Regions from separate parts of the Homo sapiens genome. Here all the other regions are linked to region 1. The links are contacts of gene promoters, found by promoter capture Hi-C in blood cells and fetal thymus (Javierre and others, 2016). All regions are on one chromosome and are shown on one strand. Each heading gives the region's core, a stretch centred on a gene start or on the middle of the fragment in contact. The rest is flanking DNA. Distances are from core to core; before and after follow the strand shown. Region 1 holds the start of SLC25A3 (solute carrier family 25 member 3). Region 2 has its middle 8.8 kb from the start of CRADD. Region 3 overlaps CEP83 (centrosomal protein 83). Region 4 overlaps NDUFA12 (NADH:ubiquinone oxidoreductase subunit A12). Region 5 holds the start of NDUFA12 (NADH:ubiquinone oxidoreductase subunit A12). Region 6 overlaps PARPBP (PARP1 binding protein). Region 7 overlaps WASHC3 (WASH complex subunit 3).

Evidence for each region. The method cuts DNA at HindIII sites, captures the fragments that hold promoters and counts their contacts. A CHiCAGO score of 5 or more calls a contact.
Region 2: a contact is called between a fragment that was not itself captured here and the fragment with the promoter of SLC25A3 in region 1, in 1 of 17 cell types (non-activated CD4 T cells). The highest score is 9.6, in non-activated CD4 T cells.
Region 3: a fragment that was not itself captured here is called in contact with the fragment with the promoter of SLC25A3 in region 1 in 2 of 17 cell types (non-activated CD4 T cells and naive CD8 T cells); the score reaches 9.2 in non-activated CD4 T cells.
Region 4: a fragment that was not itself captured here is called in contact with the fragment with the promoter of SLC25A3 in region 1 in 1 of 17 cell types (total CD4 T cells); the score reaches 8.7 in total CD4 T cells.
Region 5: a contact is called between a fragment that was not itself captured here and the fragment with the promoter of SLC25A3 in region 1, in 3 of 17 cell types (naive CD8 T cells, non-activated CD4 T cells and activated CD4 T cells). The highest score is 7.4, in naive CD8 T cells.
Region 6: a fragment that was not itself captured here is called in contact with the fragment with the promoter of SLC25A3 in region 1 in 2 of 17 cell types (non-activated CD4 T cells and naive CD8 T cells); the score reaches 8.5 in non-activated CD4 T cells.
Region 7: a fragment that was not itself captured here is called in contact with the fragment with the promoter of SLC25A3 in region 1 in 3 of 17 cell types (naive CD8 T cells, total CD4 T cells and activated CD4 T cells); the score reaches 10.0 in naive CD8 T cells.

What each region holds. Positions count from the first base shown.
Region 1 is chr12:98,592,367-98,595,085 of GRCh38, forward strand. It overlaps SLC25A3 (solute carrier family 25 member 3), which reads left to right and starts at 1,320. Exons shown (of 8, transcript NM_002635.4): 1 at 1,320-1,374; 2 at 1,609-1,769. The coding sequence starts at 1,613. RefSeq lists enhancers at 842-1,061, 1,110-1,734, 1,312-1,411, 1,735-2,359. The HindIII fragment of the contact is 3,126 bases long and covers 620-2,719 here.
Region 2 is chr12:93,667,174-93,669,892 of GRCh38, forward strand. No RefSeq gene overlaps it. Among named protein-coding and RNA genes, the nearest start is that of CRADD, 8.8 kb to the right of the region's middle. The HindIII fragment of the contact is 1,126 bases long and covers 816-1,941 here.
Region 3 is chr12:94,455,783-94,458,501 of GRCh38, forward strand. The region is part of intron 1 of CEP83 (centrosomal protein 83); the gene reads right to left. Among named protein-coding and RNA genes, the nearest start is that of CEP83, 2.7 kb to the right of the region's middle. RefSeq lists a silencer at 13-162. The HindIII fragment of the contact is 573 bases long and covers 1,118-1,690 here.
Region 4 is chr12:94,985,325-94,988,043 of GRCh38, forward strand. All of the region lies in intron 3 of NDUFA12 (NADH:ubiquinone oxidoreductase subunit A12), which reads right to left. Among named protein-coding and RNA genes, the nearest start is that of NDUFA12, 17 kb to the right of the region's middle. The HindIII fragment of the contact is 617 bases long and covers 1,039-1,655 here.
Region 5 is chr12:95,001,314-95,004,032 of GRCh38, forward strand. It overlaps NDUFA12 (NADH:ubiquinone oxidoreductase subunit A12), which reads right to left and starts at 2,384. Exons shown (of 4, transcript NM_018838.5): 1 at 2,282-2,384; 2 at 1,426-1,508. The coding sequence starts at 2,367. RefSeq lists enhancers at 2,015-2,642, 2,107-2,506. The HindIII fragment of the contact is 6,573 bases long and covers 1-2,719 here.
Region 6 is chr12:102,122,288-102,125,006 of GRCh38, forward strand. PARPBP (PARP1 binding protein) reads left to right here. Exons shown (of 11, transcript NM_017915.5): 2 at 1,599-1,754. The coding sequence starts at 1,602. Among named protein-coding and RNA genes, the nearest start is that of PARPBP, 3.5 kb to the left of the region's middle. The HindIII fragment of the contact is 1,013 bases long and covers 815-1,827 here.
Region 7 is chr12:102,055,765-102,058,483 of GRCh38, forward strand. The region is part of intron 2 of WASHC3 (WASH complex subunit 3); the gene reads right to left. Among named protein-coding and RNA genes, the nearest start is that of WASHC3, 4.9 kb to the right of the region's middle. The HindIII fragment of the contact is 2,843 bases long and covers 1-2,719 here.

The DNA of each region.
Region 1 (2,719 bases), core at 70-2,569:
ACCTGATTTGCAGGGTCCAGTGCAAACTAAAAAAAGCGTGGCCCCTTGTTCATACATGTATTAAGAATTTCAAGCCGGGCATGGTGGCTCAGGCCTGTAATCCCAGCACATTGGGAGGCCGAGGTGGGCGGATCACCTGAGCTCAGGAGTTCGAGACCAGACTGGCCAACGTGACGAAACTCTGTCTCTACTAAAAATAGAAAACTTAGCCGGGCGTGGTTGTGCACGCCTGTAGTCCCAGCTACTCCGGGGGCTGAGACAGGAGAATCGCTTGAACCCGGGAGGCGGAGGTTGCGGTGAGCTGAGATCGCCCCACTGCACTCCAGCCTGGGCGACAGAGCAAGACTCCATCTCAAAAGAAAAAAAAAAAAAATCAAAATGACAGCAGAGCATTAAATGAAGTGTAAGGCCATGTGTGACTGTACCAGTGTGAACCTATGAGGCCAGTCCCACCCCTATCTTACATCTAGGGAACAGGTACACAGAGATGAAGTAAATTCCCAAGGTTACTTTGTCAAGAGCTTGGAAAATATAAGAGTCAGAAGTCTAACAGGTTGAATCCCTATTAAACTCTCCCCAACTAAACTACGCCCCTCCCTGTTGAGCTGAATCTAATGAAAGCTTCCTAAATGTATTAACCACACACACGCACAATCTGCTATCAGTCACTTTCAGTAGTTCATCGCTGTAACATCTCAGGAGTTCAATGTTTCAACGTGTTCTGTAGATTACTGTGATAACGCGGCAAGCTGTCGTAAGACTTCTTGCTGCACATTTCTTTTTAAAATATTCTCCAGGAGTCTGATGAAAAATACAGACATACCTATGTTTAATGTCAATGGATGGAACTTATTTTAAAAAGTACTGTAATGGCAGAAGTTGTGACACAAAGTACTGCAGTGATGTTGTAACTCCAACACCTAAATATATTATCAAGCATTCGCGTTTTGTTTTGTTTTTTAAGTGACTACTAGATACTGTGATTCACTTAAGTGAAGCGAACTGAAGCCCGTGGTCAAGGAGAGACACCTGAAGGTGAAGGGACAAAGCGAGCAGGGTAAGAGCTCGAGCCCGACCCCTCTCAAAAAATATAGACCCGGAACGCGCGCCTGCGCAGAACGAATCCTCCCGCGCACAAGCCGGGCGGAAGAGCTGGGGCGGGCAGGGGCGGGAATAAGGTTGCTAGGAGAACGCGATGACGCTACGGGCTCGGCGCTCTTCTCCACCAATGGGCGACGCGTACTTGCAGTGGCGCGCTGTGTGCGTCACGCCGACGACGCGCGAAGGGCACACATCTTAGGACCCGGAGGACGTCCGGCCTCTGTGAGCCGCAACCTTTCCAAGGGAGTGGTTGTGTGATCGCCATCTTAGGGAGTGAGTGTGGCCGGGCCTTCTCCTGTGGCGGGTGTGGGGAGCGGAGCCCAGAGCTCCTGTGGGGCCGCTGCTTTGGCGGTGGGCCCAGCCGGGAGCAGCCTCTTTCGAAGGCCGCCGTGACCTCTTCAAGGGCGTGGAGACGGGAAGGAAAAGGCCCCGGTTGGGGTTCCAGGGCGCCGGTAACGTTAACCGGCGCCTTGCCTGTCCTCTAACCGTCGCTCCCTCCTCCCCTAGAAAGATGTTCTCGTCCGTGGCGCACCTGGCGCGGGCGAACCCCTTCAACACGCCACATCTGCAGCTGGTGCACGATGGTCTCGGGGACCTCCGCAGCAGCTCCCCAGGGCCCACGGGCCAGCCCCGCCGCCCTCGCAACCTGGCAGCCGCCGCCGTGGAAGGTGAGATCAGACCCTGCCCAATACAGTCGTGTGGTCTACTTGTGGGCCGCCCAGCCTTTGAGGCCTGGACCCGGCTTGGAGGACAGGGAAGGACGAGTCCAGCCCGCTGCACCGTAGGACGGCGCCCAGTTGCTTGCCCTGGGGTATCGGCCTTTTCCACCATAGGCGGGTGTCAGATCCTTGGCCTTCCCTCAAGGGCGTGGAAGCGCTGAGGCCCTGTGTCCCTTCGTGACCTCCGTGTGCCCGAGGGAAGAGAGGCCGTGACTAGCTCTTTCTCCGCCGTGAGCTCGCTTGGTCAGCAAACTAAGTACTGGGTAAACTCTCCTCCCGAAACTACTGACCACCCACAGTTCTACTAACTATATTACCTGTCCTTTGATTTGCCCTTAGTTTTCTTAAAAATAGTCCTTTCCTAAGTTTTATATTTGTCGACGCCAGGTCAGTCATTTTTGCACTTAATTGTATATGAGATAACTAGATGTCCTGTTTTCGTGCGACTGGAGGAGGCAGCTTGCAGCCCTACATAGGCAATAGAAAGGAGATAATTGGTGGGCGTCCCTTTGGTGTGATTATCTCTTGGGATTCTTGGTGGTTGGGCCCAGCTTTAACTTAGTTGTGTGTGTTTTAAATCCTAGTGAAGTATGTACATACAGAGAAACCTGAAAACCGAATTGTAGGAGTCCTAAGAATGTTATCTACCTTGTGCCTGTAAAATCGAAAGATTTTTTTCTTTAAATCATTCATGTGCTTCTGTTGTCTTTAGTATGGATAGAGTCCTTATTTACACTATCTGTCGTTCAGTTTAAAAGTTAAAGCTAACATTATTTGTGTATTAAATGTATTTGACTGCAGGAATTTGTGCGTATCCGTTTTTATGTTACAGGAGTTCTTAAGTGGGGATAGTATTGGTTAGTGGCTGGGATAAACTTTGAAGTTGTTTGCAAGCCTTT
Region 2 (2,719 bases), core at 129-2,628, 4.9 Mb before region 1:
CTCTACTAAAAAAAAAAAAAAAAAAAAAATCAGCCAGGCGTGGTGGTGCATACCTGTAGTCCCAGCTACTTGGGAGGCTGAGGTGGGAGAATTGCTTCAACCAGGGAGGCGGAGGTTTCAGTGAGCTGAGATTGTGCCATTGCATTCCAGCCTGGGCAACAGAGCAAGAATCCGTCTCAAACAAAAAAAAAAAAAGAAAGAAAATTGAATTTGGTAAACAATGTAATTTCATTCTATAGGCTACTAGCCCCTCAACCACAAGTCACTTTACCTCTCTGTGCCTCACTGTTCCCTTTCATAAAATTAGGTGCCATTTCTTAGTTCTTTTCCATTTCCAGAATTCTGTGATTATATTATGGTGCACATTCTATGTAATAGTTTGTATTTTTTTCAAAGAGATATCATATATACTAGCTCACTTGATCCTTACAAGAACCCAATCCTTCTGTATGTAAAAAGAAAATTTTGTCAAGTATCAACTTTGGAGGCCTGAATCTTAGAAAATGTGTAATAATCATTGTACAGGTTCAGCAGGACACTCAGATATTTATTAATTAACTAACTGAAGAAATGCTGTTTTGGCTAATGTCTTGCTGTGCTCACAGCATATGCGTCATGGGAAGAATGCTCTTGTATAGCCAAGCTTTGATGTCCATGTGCTCTCAAAGGAAACCACACAAATGCTGCAGCCTTTTAGGGGAGAGCCATGGGGCTCTACATTGAGGCTAAGCTGCCCTGACCTTACTTTGCTGGATGAGTGTTCTAGGGAATCTGGCCAATCTGAAAGGAACATTCATATTAATATGGTAATAAAAAGCTTGGGACTCTGGAATAAGCCTGACTTTTATTTGAATCCTGGCTTTGCCACTTAACTAGTTATAGTTACTTTATAAGGCTGTACAAGGATGGAATTAAATTCAGTGAGCTAATATGTGAAAAAATGTCCAGTTTCTGGCATGTAATAAATGTTCAATGATTGTTAACTAAAAAATATTAGGGTGGGAGCTGTCAAAGGAAATTGGATAATTTAAATTTAGTCTCAATGAATCTATTACTTACATAAAAACTGTGTTGTTCTGCATTCTGCTCATCTTTCACGTTCAAATACACATTAGGCTTATTCACTAATTGATTCATTAATTTCTTAATTCAATGACTATTTATTGAGCACCTATTATGTGTCAAACTCTATTATAAATAAACACTGGAAATGCAGAAGCAAACAAGACATTAAGAGTCCCTACTCTTATGGACGTGCATTTTAATGGGGAGTGACAGAAAATATCCTCCTTCCCAATAAAAAAACAAACAAATAAGAAAATTAACTGGTAATGATAAATGCTAAGAAAAACATGAAATTAGGCAATGTGATAGACTCTGGGGAGCAATTTTAGATTGGGTGTTCAAGGAAGGCCTCTCTATGGATGAAAAGATGAAGCAAAGTTCCGGGGTCCAAGCAAGATATGATGTAGAAGAGAGTAGAGGTGGTTAGGATGGAGAGAGGCGAATGGGTTAGGGGATGATGTAGAGGAAGAGCAATAGTACTTATTGATGGGTCGGACAGTAGGTGTGAGGGACAGAGAGGAATTAAGGAGGAGCCCTGAAGTCTTTGACTTGAGTGGATGGTGGTACCATTTACAGAAGTGGAGCAGGCTGAGTAGAGTAAATTGGGAGTGAGAGGATCAGGAGTCTGGTTTGGGAAAGATTAAGTTTGAAGTGCCTATTGAACTCCAGTGGAGGTGTCAAGTAGACAACTGGATACACAAGGTCATAGCGAAACATTTGGGGGATTTTTGCCTTTAGATAATATTTAATGGAGTGGGCGGGATGAGAATGGTTAGGGGAAAGAGCACACTCTCACTTCTCGACAATGGGAGTTAAAAAAGAGAAGAGGTTCCTGGTATATTCTTACATTTTCAGGTATCTATGACTCATAACAAAAGCTTACAGTAATAAAATACAGTCCTCATAGAATTACCCACATGGAAATAAATTGATAGGAAATTCTGGCCTTTTCACATTCTTTAGTATACATGAATGGGAATCAGAAATAAGTCGGATTGTAATACACTAGTCATTCTTTGACCCACATTTTTGACTGCCTACTGCTAGGCACTGTATGTAAAAGGAAATCAATAGCACAGTCATGTTGTTGGTCAAACATTTACTGAGCACATGCTGTGTGCATAGTACCAGATGAGTCGGGTAGAGACTAAAAAATGGAAAATTAATTTTCTGCCCCAAGAAAAAGCGGTCTAAATTAGGGATGGAGTACAAACCACTCAAAAGTTTAAAGAAGAGTATGTTTCCTTTTCCTTCCACATATCTGATGTTCTTAGGCCACTAGGAGTTCTTGCACTGCTATAAAGAAACACCTGAGACTGGGTAACGCATAAAGAAAAGAGGTTTAATTGGCTCACAGTTGCACAGGCTGCTAAGGAAGCATGATGCTGGCATCTGCTCAGCTTCTGGGGAGGCCTCAGGAAACTTACAATCATGGCAGAAGGCGAAGGGGAAAGAGGCACATCTTATGTGGCCTGAGCAGAAGCAAGGGGTGTGGGGTAGGTGCCACACACTTTTAAACAACCAAATCTCGTGATAACTCACTCACTATCATGAGAACAGCAGCATGGGGGAATTCCACCCCCATGATCCAATCACTTCCCAACAGGCCCCACCTCCAACACTGGGTATTACAGTTTGACATGAGATTTGGGCA
Region 3 (2,719 bases), core at 154-2,653, 4.1 Mb before region 1:
ACCTACAATCCCAGCACTTTGGGAGGCCAAGGTGGGTGAATCACTTGAGGCCAGGAGTTCCGAGACCAGCCTGGCCAATGTGGTGAAACCCTGTCTCTATTCAAAATACAAAAAAAAAGCCAGGTGTGGTGGCATGCACCTGTTAGCCCCAGCCACTTGGGAGGCTGAGGCAGGAGAATCACGTGAACCCACGAGTTCAAGGTTGCAGTGAACAAAGATTGCACCACTACGCTCCAGCCTGGGCGACAGAGCAAAACTCCATCTCAAAAAAAAAAAAAAGAAAAAAGAAATAGTACTAGACTTGACAGTCAGTGATCTCTCCATGACCTAGAGAGGGCAGTCCTGATGAAAAAAATATAATTAATAAACTGATATTCTACTAGGAACCAGGAAATTGACCAAACTCCCCAAGCCCACTGAAGAATAGTGCCAGCATTCCTGAGAGTCCTTACTGCTGGTATTGCCATGGGAAATTCTCAAATACTCACTTTCTAGGAACAGAATCTTTATTTCTGATTCCGTGAATTCCCACTCTTCAATCTTTTTTATAGTTTACTGTTGCCATTTCCCCTTCACTTACTCTCTTCTCTCAACAACCTTACTTTCATGATACTTACAAAAGTGGGGGAAAGTAGAAATGCCTATCTGTCATTGTATTAGTCCATTTTCATATTGCTATAAAGAACTGCCTGAGATTGGGTAATTTATAAAGGAAAGAGGTTTAATTGATTCACAGTTCCACATGGCTGGAGAGGCGTCAGAAAACTTACAATCATGGCAGAAGGTGAAGGGGAAGCAAGGCACCTTCTTCACAAGGTAGCAGGAAGGAGAATGAATGCAGGAGGAACTACCAAACACTTATAAAACCACCAGATCTCATGAGAACTCACTGTCACGAGGAACAGTATGGGGGAAACCGCCGCCATGATCCAATTCCCTCCACCTGGTCTCTTCCCTGACACATGGGGATTATGGGGATTATAATTCAAGGTGAGATTTGGGTGGGGACACAAAGCCTAATCATATCAGTCATCTTTAAGAAACATTTATTCAGCAACTTGTATTTGGAAAAGACTAAGGATACAGCTCATCGAGATCTGAAGTCCTGCCCTTAATAAGCTTACAATCTAGTTAGGAAGTCAAGAAAGCTAAAATAATACAATAAAAAGTATAAGTATCAAATAAATTTAACTCACAAATACATACTATTCCTATGTATGTATGTATGAGGTCATGGTGGAGTTGAACCTTATAGAAAAGGTACAATTTAGATTTTAAGAAAGAAGGGAATAAGATCAGGTCACGGGGGATAGAAAGATATGCAGACTAATATGGAAAGGATAAAGTACAGAGCAGGTTTAGGGGATAGTGAAGAAACCAATCTGGGCAGAGACACCTTTTCCATAAAGAACATACACTTGAAAAGGCAAGGTGAGAGGATTTCAAATAATTCACCTTAAGTCAAGAAACATGAACTTGGGTTAAAAGGAAGTTTTTTACACAGATTTACACACATTCCCTAAAAGCACATAGGTTAAACAATGTGGGCAATTTACTTATGGAACCTAATATGTATGACAAAATTAAAAGCAAGCTCATCTACTTTTAGGCAAAGAGACAGTACCTGGGGGTGGGGAAATTCTGACAATTCACTAAAATTCACTAATCTTTCTGTTAAGATTTCACTCTAAGCTTCTTGAATTAGAACATCCCATGACATAATGCTGATTTCTGATTACTAAGGATTATACGAGTCATTCTTGATTTGTCTCCTCCATCTTGCCCAACTTTTGAATATTTCATTACTTCAACATCAGCATATAGAAAAAAGGAGGAGAGAACTAAAATTAAGTCCATGGATTTTAGCAATACATAAGGGTATCTGACATAAAGAACATTAAACTTCAAGTTCCAATTCCCATTATTAATAGATTTCAAAGAAGTCATTTAGTCTCATCATGTCTCAAATTTTCTCACATACTTGCTTACTTGAAAGGTTATTGATTGAAAAGATCATTCAAAAAGTGCTCTAAAAACTAACAACTTGCCATAAAAATTTTATCATTAAGGGTTCAATAAGAGGAGACAGTGAGGTGACTGGTAAACCAAGGATTAAAAACTACCTGTGAATAGGCCAGGCACGCTGGCTCACACCTGTAATCCCAGCACTTTGGGAGGTCAAGGTGGGCAGATCGCCTGAAGTCAGGAGTTCGTGACCAGCCTGGGCAATATGGTGAAACCCCATCTCTACTAAAAATACAAAAATTAGCAGGGCATGGTGGCATGCACCTGTAACCCCAGCTACTCGGGAGGCTGAGAGGAGAGAATCACTTGAAACTGGGAGGCGGAAGTTGCAGTGAGCTGAGATCCCACCACTGCACTCCAGCCTGAGCGACAAGAATGAAACTCTGTCTCAAAAAAAGAAAAAAAAAAAAACTACCTGTGAATAATCAGTGTTTCATTCTCCCAGTGCTGCATGGAATTCTAAATTGTATTTCACTATTATTTGAGAATGTTCTAAATACAGTCCGCGCACTTCATCTGATCTGGAAAGAAAACACTCAAAGTAAGGGGAATACCCAGCATACTCTGTCCTAAATAACCAAAGGACAACTCAAAACCATTTGCAACTCTCAGGAGAGTCCTGTGTGACACTTATAATTTAAAGCATTCTGGCCTGGTGCGGTGGCTCACACCTGTAATCCCAGCACTTTGGGAG
Region 4 (2,719 bases), core at 97-2,596, 3.6 Mb before region 1:
TAAAAAAAGTGGTTGGTAGGCCGGGCGCAGTGGCTCACGCCTGTAATCCCAGCACGTTGGGAGGCCGAGGTGGGTGGATCACGAGGTCAGGAGATCAACACAATCCTGGCTAACATGGTGAAACCTCGTCTCTACTAAAAAAATACAAAAAATTTAGCTGGGCATGGTGGTCAGCGCCTGTAGTCCCAGCTACTCAGGAGGCTGAGGCAGGAGAATGACGTGAACCTGGGAGGTGGAGCTTGCAGTGAGCTGAGATCACGCCACTGCACTCCAGCCTGGGAGACAGAACAAGACTCCATCTCAAAAAAAAAAAAAAAAAAAAAGCGGTTGGCAGGGACAAAGTACCCAGACATTTCTCAGAAGACATACAAATGGTCAACAGCTATATGAAAAAAATGCTCATTGTCACTAATCATCAGGGAAACCAGATCAGACTGTGCAACATAGCAAGAGCTCACTTCTACTAAAAATAAAAATAGGCCAGGCACAGTGGCTCACACCTGTAATCCCAGCACTCTGGGAGGCCGAGGTGGACAGATCACCTGAGGTCAGGAATTTGAGACCAGCCTGGCCAATATGGTGAAACCCCGTCTCTACTAAAAATACAAAAGTTAGCTGGGCATGGTGGTGTGCACCTGTAATCCTAGCTACTCAGGAGGCTGAGGCAGGAGAATCGCTTGAACCCGGGAGGCAGAGGTTGCGGTGAGCTGGGATCACGTCACTGCATCCCAGTCTGGGCGACAAGAGCATAACTCTGTCTCTAAATAAATAAATAAATAAATAAATAAATAAGCTAGTCTCAGCTACTCAGGAGGCTGAGTTGGGAAGATCGCTTGAGCACAGCATATTGAAGCTGTAGTGGGCTATTAATGTGCCACTGAACTCCAGCCTGGGAGACAGAACAAGACCCTGTCTTCAAAAGAAAAAAAAAGAAAAACAAGCAGAGTAGAATGGTGGTTACCACGGGCAGGAGGAGTGGAGAGTATAAGAAAGAGGAGATGTTGATAAAAGAGTACAAAATTTCAGTTAGGAGGACTAAGCTTTAGTGCTCTACTGCACAGAATGGTGACTGTAATAAATAATAATTCACTGTATATTTGGAAATTGCTAAAATAATTTTAAGTGTTTTTACCACAAAAAAATGATAAGTATGTGAGGTAATTGATTTACTAATTGGCTTGATTTAATCATTCCACAATGTAAACATGTATCAAAACATCATATTGTACCCCACAAATATATACAATTATTATTTGTCAATTAAAAATAAAATTTTAGCCTGGGCAACACTGTGAGACCCCTATCTCCTAAAAAAAAACCAGCAGGTTGTGGTGATGCACCCCTGTAGTCCCAGCTACTTGGGAGGCTGAGGCAGGAGGATGGCTTAAGCCCAGGAGGTTGAGGCTGGAGTGAGCTGTGAAAGCACCAGTGCACTCAGCCTGGGCGACAGAGTGAGACCCTATCTCAAATAAAATATTTTTAAAAACTGAGAACCCCTCCCCTCTAAAAACCTCCAAAGAACTCCAAATGCAGCTTGAATGGGTTCCAACTAGTCAAATTGAGCCCAATTTGAACAATAAAAGAACCATTTAAAGCAATGGATTATAACCCATTGATTAAAATAGGAGTTGATACAGATACAAATAATGAATTAAAGCTTTGATGAGTAAGGGGATACTTACATAACCTCAAAGTGTCTCCCCACAAAATGCTAATTAATTTCAAAGGGAAAATTAGTAACTTTAGAATGGAGAAAACCGGCAGACCCCTTAATCACGTGATAGAGGTTTTCATTAATAATAGGACAAAAACAAATCAGCTGCTACTTAATAGAGTGCAACAAGAAAAACATGGCTTCAGTGACAGGAATGTCACAGAAGCATAGCCTGAACCTAGTCATGAGGAAACATTCAACAAACTCACTGAGGGACCTTCAACAATATAACTGTCAAGTAATTTTCAAAAGCGTCAAGGTCATGAAAATCACAGAAAAGTTGAGGAACCAATCAAGTGTGAAGGAGACTAAAGAACTTGAGATCCATATGAAATGTGTGATTGGATCTCTCTATAAAGGACACTGTTGGGACAACTGACGAAACCTGAGTGGCTGAAGTTCAGAACACGCTGCTCCAAAATATGCAGCTCTGGCATATGGACTATGCTGAGTTAAAGGCACTTGAACAACAGCAGGCACGGCTGGGTGTGGTGGCTCATGCCTGTAATCTCAGCACTTTGGGAGGCCAAGGTAGGCAGATCACTTGAGGCCAGGAGTTCAAGACCAGCCTGGCCAACATGATGAAACCCCGTCTCTACTTAAAATACAAAAATTCGCCAGGTGTAGTGGCACATGCCTGTAATCCCACCTACTTGGGAGGCTGAGATAGGAGGATCATTTGAGCCCAGGAGGTCGAGGCTGCAGACTGTACCACTGCACTCCAGCCTGGGTGACAGGGCAGGACATTGTCTCAAAAAAAAAAAAAAAAAAAAAAAAAGGTAAAGAAAAACAGCAGGCACAAGAATAATATGGCCTTTTTCTTTCTGAAAGCAGGAGAAAAAATTCCCACATCAAAGATATCCTCCCTATACCAGAAGGAAACTATCATTCTACATCAAGGACAGGAAATTGAGGTCAAGGGAAATCTGCACAAACGTTGTTAAATTAACTTTTATCTTCTTAGTCACTTCTCCACCCAATTAACCTACTCAAGCCCAAGTCCCT
Region 5 (2,719 bases), core at 220-2,719, 3.6 Mb before region 1:
AACAAAAACAAACAAAAATGCTGTGGCCAGGCACAGTGACTCACATCTGTAATTCCAGCACTTTGGGAGGCTGAGGTGGGAGGATCACCTGAGCCCAGGAATTCAAGACCAGCCTAAGAAACATAGCAAGACCTCGTCTCTCCAAAAAAAAATTTTTTTAAACAATTAGCCAGGCATGGTGACACATGCCTGTAATCCCAGCTACTTGGGTGGCTGAGGTAGGAGGACAGCTTGAGCCCAGAAAGTTGAGGCTGTAGTGAGCCATGATCGAGTCACTGCACTCTAGACTGGGTGACAGAGCGAGACCCTGTCTCAACATTAAATAAATAAATAAATTTTTAAAATATAATAAAACAATGCTGTGATGTATGTTGGTTTGCAAGAATATTTGTAGAATTAATTCTTTTTTGAGATAAGAGTCTCGCTCTGTTGCCAGACTGGAGTAGAGTGGCGGGATCTGGGCTCACTGCAACTTCCGACTCCCTGGTTCAAGCGATTCTCCTGCTTCAGCCTCTCAGGTAGCTGGGATTACAGGCACACGCCACCACATCCAGCTAATTTTTGTATTTTTAGTAGCGACTGGGTTTCACCACGTTGGGCAGGATGCTCTCGATCTCCTGACCTCGTGATCCGCCCGCCTCCGCCTCCCAAAGTGCTGGGATTACAGGCGTGAGCCACCGCGCCCAGCCGAATTAATTGTTAAAAGTGGAAGTGCTGAGACAAAGGATATGTGCAATGTAAATTTTTACAAATGTTACCAAATTATCCCTCCAAAAAGACTGCATTAACCTACATATTTATATGGTTTTGCCCACATTGGGATTTATCAGCTTGAAAAATACTCAAGGCTGGACGCAGTGGCTCACGCCTGTAATCCCAGCACTTTGGGGGGCCAAGGCGGGTGGATCACGAGGTCAGGAGTTCAAGACCAGCCTGGCCAATATGGTGAAACCCCATCTCTACTAAAAAATACAAAAATTAGCCGGCCATGGTGGCGCCCGCCTGTGGTCCCAACTACTCAGGCAGGCTGAGGCAGGAGAATCGCTGGAACCCAGGAGGTGGAGGTTGCAGTGAGCCGAGATCGCGCTACTGCACTCCAGCCTGGCCGACAGAGACTCCATCTCAAAAAAAAAAAAAAAAAAAAAAAAAAAGAACAAAAACACTTCAAAATTTGATAGGTGAAAAATATATAACACTGTTTTTAAAGTTGCATTTCTGTTGTTACAAGTGAGAATGAGCATTTTTCCATACCTTCATTGGCTGTTTACTTTTCTTTTTTCTGTAAATTATCTTTTTTCATTTTCTATTGAGTTTTTCATCCTTTTCCAGGTGTTTTGTAAAAGCTCATTGCATAATATGGAAAATAGACTCAAATCAAATCCCAATCCCAATCCAATTATTCATACTAAAAAATACTGCACTCACCAAAAAATTGCTTGTTGTCTTCATAGTATTTGTTTCCATATTTGTCTTCCCCCACTAATGTACCAACCTTCGCATCATTTGTCCTGTGAATACCCAAAAGAAAACAGACATTTTAGAATGATTCTTAGTTCAAAACATAAACGGAAATAAAGTGAGAGTAACAACTTTCAGACACAAGGGCTGCTGCATCAACTAGCAAAATGAAGAAGTGCTGGGGATGGGAAAAGATGAATTGACAACTGATGTGCTCAAATTACACTAAAAATATAAATGTAGTCTCTTCAGATTACAGGACTACTTGTATCTACTATCCCTCAGCCAGGAGGCACTGGAATTAGCAAAACCTTTAGGAAATCAAAAAGCCAAAGTATTTCATCTTCTTACAATGATACGAAGGTCTCCAGGCTCTTTCATTCCACTCTGGGTCTCCATTTAGGTTTCTGCGAAACTATGCTGCTCGTGGGATCAGTGAATGTCAGGAAGAGAAGGGACCATCATTATTACCTTCAACGCCTTACAGACAAGGAACTGTACGGCAGTGCAGGGAAAAAAACTTTACCAGGGTCACTGAGTTAATGTCTTGTAATCCTCATTACTCTCCAGGGCGTGGGAAAAGAGGGGAGCCCAGATGCCCTTGCCTCCGAGTCACAGCTCTGACTCTACAGATAGCTTCGGTCTTGTATCGGGGATATATGGGACAGAGACCAGCCTGGGGGTGGCAAGGCAGAGATTGGGGCGGTTGTCCTTGACAAGAGCTGTGGATTCTCCAAGGTGACCCGAGCCTGGGACCCCTTCCAAGAAATCAGCCAGCGAAAGTCCAGCCCCAGAGGCCAAGAGCATGGCTCTGGCCGCCTACCTGAAAAAAACCCGTAGATAGCCTCGGAGACCGCCGTGGCCGGTGATCTGCTGCAGCCCGCGTTTCAGGACCTGCACTAACTCCATCTTGCCTCGCTGGCCCCGCCTCCCGGGTGCGCCGAGCAAAACCCACCGGATGGAAGCTGCCACTCAGCCGCAGGAAGCCCACGCCCAGAAGGTTCTCACGCGAACGCCAGACGTGGTGGCTCTGCGCGTGCGCAGAGCTAGGTCTTGCCTACGCGGTCATGTTCTGGCTTCCCAAGTAGGCAGAATTGGTTTCCCCTGGAAGCAAAGGTACCTTAAAATTTAGTTTTCAGAGGTTAAATCTAGAAGGCGGGCATATGCTGGAAAGCTCACCTACACGAGGCTTTCTCACACGGGGATTCCCCCTTTGGGAATTTCAGTTTCCTCATCTAAAAATAATTGGCTCTGGTGGGCG
Region 6 (2,719 bases), core at 71-2,570, 3.5 Mb after region 1:
ATTTGCATTTATGTAAATAATTAATCTCTAATCTTCTACCTGTATCTTTAAGTTGCATCATAGATTGTGTCTATAATTTAATTATATTGCAAGTGGCATGTATCTTTGCTCTTGATTATACAAACCAAAGTAAACATCTAGGATTCTGTTTATGCCACATAAAAATAGAAGAAAAGGATAGCAGAAGGAGTCAGGAAATGGAATAAGTACAGGAAAATACCCAAAATAAGATGATGGGCATGTGAGTATGTTGAGACTTGAGTACTTAAAGTAGGAAAAAAACTTTTAGCAGGCATGTCTGTAAACTCAGAGAAAGGAATTGGATGCCTTATATAGTCTTGGGTATATGAAACATTGGCACTACCTCAAATTATTTTGAAAGGCTTTTGTGTGCATCAGGAGAAGTTACTTAACATGATGCTTTAAGAACACAGCTTATAGAGTTAGACATATTAAGTTTATGCTGTTTGTCCACTTACAAGCTGAGTGACGTGGAGGTTATTAGGTAAAATAAGGATAATAACAGACCTGTCTTATTGGACACTTATGACAGTCGAGTGAGGTAATCAATATTAAGCTTTTGAAAAGTATCTCCACCAAGTTAGCTCCTAAATATTAGTTATTTTATTGGTTATGTAGTACGGTGTAACAAACCATTTCAAAAGTTAAGGTTTTAAAATAACCATTTCCTTCTGATTCTGTGGATCAGCAGTTTGGGTGGGACACTGCTTGGTGATACTCTAGTGGTCATACAGGACACAATTCCTCCTGTTGTAATAGGTGGTGACAACACATGTGAAATGTCTACCAGGGAAGCTTATTAGAGACTTAATGCCCAGGGTTTTTATTGGGGGCTAAATGCAAAGGCATCCACTGTCTGACATGTACCAAAATTCCAGACTCGCAAGTGTTTAGCATAAACTATATTGTTTGTATGAACAGTTTAGCACAGTGAACCACTCTTACTGGAAACACTCCTGAAATCTAAGCTCCCAAACTGGACTCCAGCTTCAAAGGAGAGCATTCAGGCCTATTGTATTAGTACTTCTGCACACACCACTTAAGGCCTAAGCTCAGAACTCCCACAGCGTCATTCTTGCCACATTCTATTGGTTAAATCAAGTCACAAGCCTGGTCCAGATTCAAAAGGGTAGAAAAATAGGCCACCTCTTTTGGGACAACGTAGGATGGGAGGAAATTGGCTTTTTAGGTTTTTTTTTTTTTTTCCCAATTTATCAGACTTATTACCTATCTCAAAACAAATATATATATTTAAATACAGCTTTAATTAGGTATATTTGTAATTATAAGTTTGCAGTAAATTTGCATGTCTGTTTTTGTGTGAATTTTCAGAATTGAAGGCTACATTTTGTTCTTTCAGAAGGTTTGGCTTAAGAAACCAAAGGGGAGGGAAATATGATTGCGCAGAAATTGTATTATTTTGTTTTCCTAAATTTAATTAAAAGCAATCTTGGTAAATATGAAATGACCTCTCATTCACTATATGTTTTTCTCTATCTGTGCTTGCCTATACATGTTAAATGTTAATTTCAGGTTAACATAAGATACTTTAACTTTGTATTCTGTCCTACTTTAAGATAATGGCTGTGTTTAATCAGAAGTCTGTCTCGGATATGATTAAAGAGTTTCGAAAAAATTGGCGTGCTCTTTGTAACTCTGAGAGAACTACTCTATGTGGTGCAGACTCCATGCTCTTGGCATTGCAGCTTTCTATGGCGGAGAACAACAAACAGGTTGGTAAACTATATTTGGGTTAACTTGTTTTTTTAAAGCAAAATTTCATTGCTGCCCATTTGAATAAACTTAAGCTTAAGAATATTAATTTCTTTACATTATGTGCCCTTCTGTGATAATACACCATTTTCACAAATGCCTCTGTGTATCTGTGTCAGAATGTTATGATAGAATTTGAAATGAATTATTTCAAAATTAAGCTCTTATGTATGGTTATACACGGGACATGCATATTTGATGTTTAATAGGAAGATTTAGGATAAACATGTAACTATTATTATTGTGGTCAAATTATTTTTATTTAATAAGACTTTTTTCATTCCCTAAACTTTTAAAAACTACTGGCTCTTGTACCCCAATCCTGGAAATTCTTCCAATCTGCACCGGGATACTGGAAACTGCCTTTAAAAAATTTCCACAAAGTGATTCTTACTTAGGTAGCTTGAGCCAAACTAGCGTTTGGATTTAAGCCGTAGATTAAGGGTTAGAGGTGTTCAGATGAGAGAAGGATGAATGTAGGATAGAGTGGTAAGGAAAGGCTTTGTGATATTAGATAGATTTTAGATAAAGGAAGAGAAGGCTGTAGAGGAGGTATGATGAGGAAAGTCAGTTCAGAAGAAGGGTTCAGGGGAATCAAAGTCATGGTATGAACTTGGCAAAGATACTGGCTTGACTAGAGAAGAGGATTTTTGAAGGGTAGAATTAGCTTCAATGGGTCTGTTGGGCTAGATATTGAAATGACATTCTGATGAGTTATTTTAATTTTATATGTCAGTAGTTTCCAGATTTTTAGATTCCATAGACAGTAAAATTTCTAAAAAATTATTAGACACTGACAGATTTTAACCATTTCTCATTTTTGCAAATAAGGCCATTGAGAAAAAATAGTTACTATATACTATGATCATCATTTTGAAAAAGGAAGAATATTTTAACACTTAAAAATTAAAAAGTATAAAATCTT
Region 7 (2,719 bases), core at 56-2,555, 3.5 Mb after region 1:
CCCAATTTTCTACAGGAATGTTTAGATGAGAATTTTTTGTTTCTGTCCTGTGGTTGAGTTGGTGCCACAGAGAATTTCCATAAAATTCAATTCCATTATTTAAAATAGTTTTTTTTAACTAGTTTTTCTATCAACCAGCCCCAGTCTGAAACTTGACACAGTGTTAACACAAAAGAGCAAGTACTTAATCTTCGTTCACATACTCTACCTACAAAGACATGACCTACAGTAGTTCTTCAAGCAGGTCAGTTTTAGGAGACGTTAATTCTATCTAACTAGACTAGCTATTTCACAACTATGTAAGACAACTTTATAAACTTTGCTTTAACTTACAAAGGTCATTTAATAATCCCATTGTTTTGACGATTCTAAAGATTGTAAGTTTATTTTTACAGTCTACTCTTAAATATTACTGTTGAGGCATATATATGGCAATGGTGGACTTAATTCTGCCTAAGATATCTGAGCATCTGTAGTAAAATATGAAGCTACCTTCATTTGGTTGATATGCTAAAGACATTTTTAAAAGTATCTCATTTTTTAAAAACTTGGTTTGTGTGTTTTGTATGCTCAGGAATTTTTCCACAGTACTGGAGACCATTGCAGTGATTAAATTTGGCCCTTTTGACAGAAAACAGAACAATGCATTCCTAGGGATAAAAAAGGGGTGACTGCAAAGGAGCATGAGGGAATTTTTGGAGTGATTCTATATCTTGTTCTACAACTATTCTACATCTTGATTATGGTATGATTATGCATTTGTCCAATCTCATACTTAATGGTAAATTTTACTGCATATAAGTTCATACTCCAATAAACATGACTTTACAATTAAAACAAAAGAAATATGAAGGCTCATAAGAGATTGCTATGACCAATTATATGCCAACAGATTGGATAACCTAGAATGGATAAGTTCCTAGACACATACAACCTATCAAGACTAAATCATAAAGAAATAGGTAATCTGAACAGACCAATAATAAGTAGAGAGATCAAATCAGTAGTTAAGTCTCCCACTAAACAAAACCCCCAGGACTTGATGCCTTCACTACTGAATTCTACCAAACATTTAAAGAAGAACTAATACAAATCCTTCTCAAACTCTTCCAAAATACTGAAGAGGAGGGGAAACTTTCGAACTCAATTTAGGAGGCCAGCATTATCCTGATTCCAAAGCCAGACAAATCCACTACAAGAAAAGAAAATCAAAGGTCAATATCCCCAGTGAACATAGAAGCAAAAATCCTCTACAAAATACTGGCAAGCTGAATACAACAGCGCATTAAAAAGGTCATTCACCAGGATCAAGTCAGATTTATCCCTGGGATACAAGGATGGTTCAACATATGCAAATCAGTAAAGGTGATACATCACATTAACAGAATGAAAGACAAAAACCGTATGATCATCTCAATAGATGGAACAAAGGCATTTGACAAAATTCAACATCCTTTGATGATAAAAACTCTCAACAAATTAGGTATAGAAAGAATCTAGCTCAACACAATGAAGGCCATTTATGACAAGCCCACAGCTAGCATCATACGCAATGGTGAAAACTGAAAGTTTTTCCTCTAAGATGAGGGACAAGACAAGGATATTCACTCTTACCCCTTCTATTCAACATAGTACTAGAAGTCCTAGCTATAGTAATTAGACAAGAGGGAAAAATAAAAGGCATTGAAATTGGAAAAAAGGAAATGAAATTGTTTCTGTTCGCAGATGGCATGCTCTTATATATTGAAAATCTTATAAAAAATTCCACCAAAAAATTGTTAGAACTAACAAACTACTTTGGTAAAGCTGCAGGATATAAAATCAACATACAAAAATCAGTAGCATTTCTATACACTAAAAGTAAACTATCTGAAAAAAAAGAAAAAAAATCTCATTTACAATAGCTACAAAAAAAATACATAGGGGTAAATTTAACCAGTGAGGTGAAAGATCTGTACACTGAAAACTATAACACATTGATGAAAAAAATTGAAGAAGACACAAATAAATGGAAAGATAACGTGTGTTCATGGATTGGAAACATGAATGTTGTTACAAGGTTGACACCACTCAAAGCAATCTACAGACTCAATGCAATCCCTATCAATTTTCCAATAATATTTTCACAGTAATAGAAAAAAAAATCCTAAAATTCATACTGAACCACAAAAGACCCTGAACAGGCAATGCAATATTAAGCCAAAAAAACAAAGCCAGAGAGATCACACTCTCTGATTTGAAAATCTACCACAAAGCTACAGTAATCAAAACAGCCATAGACCAAGGAAACAGAATAAAGAGCCCAGAAATAAATCCATGCATTTAAAGTCAATTGATTTTTGAGAAAGATGTTAAGAACACAGAAAAGACAGTTACAGAAACATACTTTTCACAGATGTTAAGAATAACAGTCTCAATAAATCATTTTGGGACAACTGGATATCCACATGCAGAATGAAATTAGACCCTCATCCTTTACCATATAAAAAAATTTAACACGAAAAGGATTCAAGATTTAAATGTAAGACCTGAAACTGTAAAACTACTAGAAGAAAACATAAGGGGAAAGTTGCACGACATTGGTCTGGGCAATGACTTTTTTTGGATATAAACCCCAAAGCACTGGTAACAAAACCAAAAATAAATAAATGGGATTACATCACACTAAGAAGTTTGTAGAATCTGGATTTTAAATTATTTTTTAAAAATTATTTTAAAA